Regions from separate parts of the Homo sapiens genome. Here region 2 is linked to region 1. The links are contacts of gene promoters, found by promoter capture Hi-C in blood cells and fetal thymus (Javierre and others, 2016). All regions are on one chromosome and are shown on one strand. The core of a region is centred on a gene start or on the middle of the fragment in contact, and the rest is flanking DNA. Distances in the headings are between cores, read along the strand shown.

Evidence for each region. Contacts are between HindIII fragments. The CHiCAGO score rates a contact against its expected background, and 5 or more counts as called.
Region 2: a fragment that was not itself captured here is called in contact with the fragment with the promoter of COTL1 in region 1 in 1 of 17 cell types (naive CD4 T cells); the score reaches 7.4 in naive CD4 T cells.

The regions. Positions count from the first base shown.
Region 1 is chr16:84,616,549-84,620,074 of GRCh38, reverse strand. COTL1 (coactosin like F-actin binding protein 1) reads left to right here and starts at 1,997. Exons shown (of 4, transcript NM_021149.5): 1 at 1,997-2,237; 2 at 2,492-2,574. The coding sequence starts at 2,161. RefSeq lists silencers at 1,739-2,098, 2,119-2,168. The HindIII fragment of the contact is 6,545 bases long and covers 1-3,475 here.
Region 2 is chr16:84,085,502-84,089,027 of GRCh38, reverse strand. MBTPS1 (membrane bound transcription factor peptidase, site 1) reads left to right here. Exons shown (of 23, transcript NM_003791.4): 9 at 1,568-1,670. Among named protein-coding and RNA genes, the nearest start is that of MBTPS1, 30 kb to the left of the region's middle. The HindIII fragment of the contact is 2,176 bases long and covers 843-3,018 here.

The DNA of each region.
Region 1 (3,526 bases), core at 748-3,247:
TAACATGGTTTATGGTTAGAAGGAAGCTCCCCATATTTTCTTCTGGCACTTTTGTGATTTCCTTTTTTTGAGACAGAGTCTCGCTTTATCGCTCAAGCTCGAGTGCAATGGTGCGATCTCAGCTCACTGCAACCTCTGCCCCCCGCCCCGGGTTCAAGCGATTCTCCTGCCTCAGCCTCCCAAGTAGCTGGGATTACAGTCGTCTGCCACCACGCCTGGCTAATTTTTGTATTTTTAGTAGAGATGGGCTTTCCCCCTGTTATCCAGGCTGGTCTCGAACTCCTGAGCTTATGAGATCCTCCCACTTCAGCCTCCCAAAATGCTGGGATTACAGGAGTGATCCACTGCGACTGGTCTGATTTCCTTTATTTGTGTTTAAATTTTTGATCCTTTTGGAATTTTCCCTGATCAAAGGATCCACCTTTGTTCTTCTTTCTAATGGCCAATTGTCCCATTACCCTTGTCAAGGAGTAAGGTAGGAATGGCTTTGTGGGGTATGAAATGTGAATTTCTTTTTGTCTTATTTATAACAGCATCTGCCTCTACTCTTCTGAAACTGTGTTCCTGTCCACCCACCCATTCAACTACCCATTGATTGACTGATTGATTGATTCATTCAATTTCTCGTTTTTGTTTTTTTGCTTGTTGAGAATTCTAACATTAATTGGACATTGTCCCTGACCTTTTGGGTTTCTATTTAGGATTTGTTTTTATCACTTAATAACCAACAATGATGACATTTTATCGAATGTCTAGTATATTTGTTCCAAGTATCATTTCAATTACACTTAAAACAAAGCAGTGATGTCAGTTATACTATTTTTCCCATTTGAGGAGTCATTTAAAAGAGGTTTTGAGGCTTTCCAATGGCCCCCAGTTGGAAAGTGGCAGTACTGGATGCAATTCAAGAGCCCAGTCTTCAGGATCCTGCCTTTTTACCTACCTGGACGCTGTAACTGGTCTCTGTGGAATGGCTGGATGAGGGAATGAATGAATGAGTCAGTGAAGGAATGAGGAAGACAGAATGAGTCAGCTCGTGCTTTCAGAGGAGCCCAAAGGGAGAGGTTAAGATAGGAATGCAAATGACCAGAATCCAGAGTAAACGCGAGCCCACCAGCGTTTTGGAAGCAGTCCACTTTCTACCCCCTCCTATTTAAAATGCTTCATTCTTTCCAGTTCCTCCCCACCTAGAATCCATGGAACCAAACGCTGGGGTAGGGACAGTGGCCAGCCTGTCTCCTTGGGTTTGACGCATTACATCATCCACGTGGAGGTCCCCTGTGGAGCTCTGCAGCCCTGCAGCCTCAGGGGCAGGGGGGTGGGGAGAATGAGGAAGGGGGAGAGGGGGAATAGGAGGAGGGAGTAGGGGACAGGGAGGGAGGAGATGCCAGGAGGGTAAGTGGAGAAGAGGGAGGCGAAGCCGGGGGCAGCAGGGGAGGGGGTCAAGGAGGAGGAAAGAGGAGAGCTTGGGGAGAAGGAAATAGGGAGGATGGAGAAGTTTTGGGCTGGGATAGGCAAGAAGAGGGAGGAGGAGAGAGGAAGAAGAATAAAGGGGGAAGGGAGAAAGAGGGGGAGGGAAGGGAGGGGGAAGAGGTCAGGGAAGTGGGGGAAGCAAGCAGTGGGGGAAGAAGAGGAAGGAGGAGGGAGAGGAGGAAGGCGGGGTGGGAAAGGGGGTTGGGGTAGTGGGAGTTTCCAGGGAGGGGTCGGGAGGGGAGGAGGGGAAGTGAGAAGGAGAAGGAGAGAGAAGAGGGATGTTGGGGGAGAAGAGAGCGGGAGGGAGGAGGGAGAGTGAGAGGGAGGAGGCAAAGCCCCTACTCCAGCCCCCACCGCGGAGTTGCGCAAGCCTTCCGGTCTGGGATTGGCCGCCAGAGAATCAAGACGCTCCGCCCCCGCAGCCCGACGGCCAATGAAGAGGCGGGCCGCCGCCTGGGCGGCCAATGGGCGCGGGGGGGCGGGGCGGGCCACGGCCTGGGGTCCCCGCGCGCTCTCCGTCCGCAGTGGAAGCCGCCGCCGCGCTCGCAGCTTGCAGGCGCCGCGTAGCCGTCGCCACCGCCGCCAGCCCGTGCGCCCTCGGCGCGTACCCGCCGCGCTCCCATCCCCGCCGCCGGCCAGGGGCGCGCTCGGCCGCCCCGGACAGTGTCCCGCTGCGGCTCCGCGGCGATGGCCACCAAGATCGACAAAGAGGCTTGCCGGGCGGCGTACAACCTGGTGCGCGACGACGGCTCGGCCGTCATCTGGTAGGAACTTTTCATTCGTCTCCACGCCCCGCTCCCCGGGCTCGCGCGGGGCCTCGTGCACCGAGCCGGCCTCCAGGCGGGACGGATTCGGGCCTCCCGCGCTGTCTTCCTCGCCTTATTCCGGGACGGCGTGCCAGGCCCCCGCGGGCTTCTCCGTGGCCAGCGCGTCTGTTAGATTGTCCTCTGCAAGCGCCGCGTCGCGCGGCCACCAGCGCTGATGTGTGTGTGTGTTTTTTTCTTCTCCCAACCCAAAGGGTGACTTTTAAATATGACGGCTCCACCATCGTCCCCGGCGAGCAGGGAGCGGAGTACCAGCACTTCATCCAGCAGTGCACAGGTAGGGAGGCGCGCCTGCCGGGCGGATGCGCGGTCGTTGGGAGGTTGTCTGCACCCGGGGAGCCCCGGCCAGAGCGAACCCGGGAGGAACCGGTGGCCACATGGGGTGCCCCTGGCGCATGGCGTGGGAGGAACCCGGTGTGAGCGTTTTAAGGCCTCATAAAACCTTCTCCCCTCTGGACATCCGAAGCAACAGAAGTGACCCACCTGCCTCCGCCATCCTACAATGCCTTCTCCAGGCGGGGCAGCTCTTTTGCCCCCTGCGGTCCACTGGTTTTCTAAGGTCAACTCCTGTGTTTCCAAACTCCAGTGTCCATCCAGCTCTTCCCACTGTCCCCTTTGATCAGTCACTGAGCCCAAATACGAACAGGCTAGGGGGCTGCTTGGAAGGGAAAGAAACTCAGCCGCGCCCTCCTTTCTCCCGCTATCATTGTCTGCCCGTGTGCTGATTTTATGTGATTTTTAATTTGACGAGTAGAATCAGATGCAAAAGAGTACACACCATATGATTCCATTTAGAAATCCTAGACAAGGCGAAACTAATCTATGGTGTGAATGTCAGAATCGAGATTAGCTTTTGGGGCTAGATAGCCACTGATGGGGAGGGGCACACCACCCGGACTGCTGGGAGCTGAAAATGTCTCTGTAGACATTTGTTGATCTGGGAGGGGGTTATGCAGGTGTGTACCCGCGTGAAAAATCATCAGACTGTATACTTAAGATTTGTGTGCCTTAGGCACTTCCCTGTGGCTTGTGAACCATGAAAAGAAAGACCACGTGGCAGGCATCGCCATAAACCCTTCGGTAGTGGCAGAGGCTCTGTGATGTTGGTAATGGGACCTTTTAAAGAGATTGGAGAATGCGACTCCCTCCCATCTCTGGTCTTTAGTTGGAAGCAAGCTTTCGGACAACGGCAGCACAGCCCGGAGGTTACGGCGTGGACCCTGAGCCAG
Region 2 (3,526 bases), core at 681-3,180, 530 kb after region 1:
GGCTTTTGTGGGTGGTTGCACTCCGTAGCTTCTTACCAGAGTTGTGAGTTTATGGTGTGTTGAAGGAGCAGAGCCTTGCCAGGAAGGCCCCATCTCCACCTTGTGTGTACGCTCATGCTGCCTCACACAGACCTGGCCACCTGCTGGCTGTTGAAGTGACAGAACGTGGCATGTGATCACGGCAGCCCAGCTTGTGGTGGGTGTGGTTTTTTCTGCTTGGGCATCTGGTGGGACTGCTTCCAGGGCTGGTCTGAGGACAGTAACATGCATACGTCAGCCCCTCTGGGAATGAGGCACACATCCTCCGGTCCCCTTTGCTGTGGTCTCTTTGTCTGGGTCCTGTGCCCTTGGTGCTCCTAGACTCTGTGGTGCCAGCAAGCCTGCAGCCTCACGTCCCTCCTTTTCAATACCAGCAATGATTTCTTGATGCGTTCCCTTATTTTTTAAGGGTTTAAAGTACACTAAGCATTATAGGGCTTAGCAGGTAGAGGAGGGTGGGAAGGTGGTATTTTTTTGGTCAACTTCAGTGGGAGTTTCTGTCAGTGACTTCTGTACCAGCCTCTGCTCCTTGAGTTCCTGGGAATGTGTAAACATCTAGCATCAGTCATCAGAAAATCATTATTCGTTCCTCTGAATGACCAGCTGGTAGGATATTGGTGGCCAGTGGGCTGAGGAGGCAGTACCACTTTTTCTCGGTGTGTTGGGAATTGTCAGTTAAAAACACACTCTAGAAGGAGAACTTCATGCTGCTATTATCTCTTAAGCCACTTGGAATCAGTTGTATGTAGTTGTTGATTTGTCAAAGAGTTCATTTTTTTTGGTAGTGGAGCCATAATAAAGCTTAGCAATGCAGTTTTATAACTGAGTGTCTCATATTTTCAAATGGTTCATCTTTATCTTGACTTTACGGTTTACACATTTTTGCCATTATTTATTTCACTATAATTTCTTTGCAGATCTAGTGCACTTAAGGTATTGGAGAGACTCTAAGGAGCTCAAGATTACAGAGTAATGATAGTCCTTCTACAGTTCCCTATGAGGAGGGTAGAACACCACCACAGGTCAATCGAAAACTTACCACTTCCTGACCTTGGCAGATGTAAATGTGTGGTTATGGTTTCTTCCAGGAGAAGTGTGTGATTTAGCTGGGGAGTTAAGATGAATGTGCTGGGAACAATTTGAAAGTGATGTGAGAATGTGTCGTTAGGTGATAAATTGTGATTGTGTTAAGTGTTGTGAGGTTCAAGGCAAGTACAGATGCTTAAGGCTTGGATTGCTGGAGGGAAAACGTGAGCCTTGAGCCCCAGTGTGCCAAGTTGACAGGGAGGAGAAGAAAGGAGGGGCGTTGCAGGTGAGAGGGCGTAATGTGAGCACAGCATGAACGTGGCAGGATCATGCGTTTCACAGGACAGCCGTGAGGAGCTGCACACGTCTTCCCACAGAAGCAGCTCATACAGTGTTAGATTGTTCTGGGAGTATTCGCCCTGGTTTGAATCATCCATTTTAAATTATTTCTCTTGTTTTTTTCTTTTTCTTTTCTTTTTTTTTTTTTTTGGTCTCAATATAGCACTCTGAATAACCCTGCTGATCAAATGGATGTGATTGGAGTAGGCGGCATTGACTTTGAAGATAACATCGCCCGCTTTTCTTCAAGGGGAATGACTACCTGGGTACGCTCTTCTTTGCTAAATAATTGTATTTAGCTGGACAAACTACTGTGGCTAGTGGCACCGGTTGTTGACGAGCCTTGGGGTGTATTTGTAAGTGCACAGACACCCTCACATTCACATGGGAATAGCCGGGGCTGTGAGTGCCTGCCCAGCCGTGAGGACGAGAGATCTGGGCCCCGTCAGCATCTGCCACTTCACTCTGGCAAGTCCACAGCTGCTGTGATGAGCACCGGCTGATTCTAAGCGGTGTTTCCCAGTTTAACTTATTAATTGATTTCTGAGGAACTCACCTTTAGGTGAATTGGGTTCCTGCCCGTTTACCCTATCTAGTAGTGGTAAGCAGTCCTCCTCAGTGGTAGGTGAGATGATATTTTTTGGGGGAGGGGAGCCTTAAGAAGTTGGAGAAACCATTGAGAACAGCTTAATATCAACTCTGCTAACACAGAAACAATTGTATTTAGCTGGACAAATTCAAAATAACTGCTACAGTTAATAATTCAGCTGTTTGGGGTTTAATTATGCAGCACATTCACCCACCTTTACCTGTCAAAGTTTGATGAAAAATTAGACGCTCGTGCAGAACAGCAGTTGGGCACCTTTGCCCTCGCTGTGGCCGAGGGGAGCATCTGCCCTTCTCATTCTTCAGGGTCAGAGCATCTCTTGGTGTTTAACGTCACATGCCACACTCGGAGGCCTCAGATAAGTCCCTGGAAAGATTCCCAACTGCCTGGGAACACTGTGGGCCTCGTCCACACTGTAGCCACTTTACAGGATAGCCTTCTGCCTGAGCCTTTGTCCTGTGACAGCGTCAGCCCCCAGCGTCCCCGCCACTCAGCCCCACCAGGGGTCCCCGCCTCCCACACTCACGTGCCTCTTCCTGGAGCTGACCTGTTGGCTGGGGACCATTCTCTCATGTGACAGTCTGTGCAGGGCAGGCTGCGTGTCCTCCCATCCACGCTCCCTCAGCATGTTCCTTGTGCTGCCGGATAATGGGAAACTGCATCCACCACTTTGTCCCCAGCTCCCTGTGTAAATGCTCTCACCGAACTGTGGTGAGATGTCATCCACTTTGTCCCCAGCTCCCCGTGTAAACGCTTTCACCAAACCGTGATGAGATGTCACGTCCATGGCCTTCATCACCAGCCAGCTTTTTAATGGCATTTGAGAAATGTCCTTCCATCATCACAGCTGCAGTGGAGGATGCCTTTACTCGGTATCCCAGTATGTGCATCCATGGTCCTTGGGTTTGATGGTCAGAAAAGGGCTTCCCTTCAAATTGGGCTCCTGTTTTCTGACAGAATATGAGATCCTATTCTAATTTTCGTTTTGCCCCAATTCTTAAGAAGCTTAAGCAAGTACTTATTAAAACGTTATCCCAAGTTAGTCGTGTGGTTATCTTGTTCCTTCTCAGTGGTTTCTTATTTCCTCTTTTACAACCGTTTGAAACATCCACTCATACCGTGTACTTTTTTCCTTGTAAAGAAACATGTTTGGGTTTTTTTACATTTTAATTTTCTAATTTTTCTAACATATTTCTAATTTTAACTTATCTAGAGATAAAGCAGTTTCCAGTTTCTGGTCTTGGTGATAAGCCAGTGTCCACTTTCCAGTCTGGCATGTCAGCAAAATTAAAATACTTATCTTTTAATTGCTTTATGCCTTTGCCATTGTTCTGGTTGTTATAAAATATATTTTTAAAAATTTACTTTCTACATTATCGTTTAAGCTTATTTTCTGTATTGTAGTGAATTTCTTTGTTTTTTTCTCTTTTTTTTTGGGGGGGGGGCGGGTGCGGGGCTGAGGGGGACAGGATCTCACTGTGTTGCCCAGGCTGGAGTGCAGTGGCACAATCACGG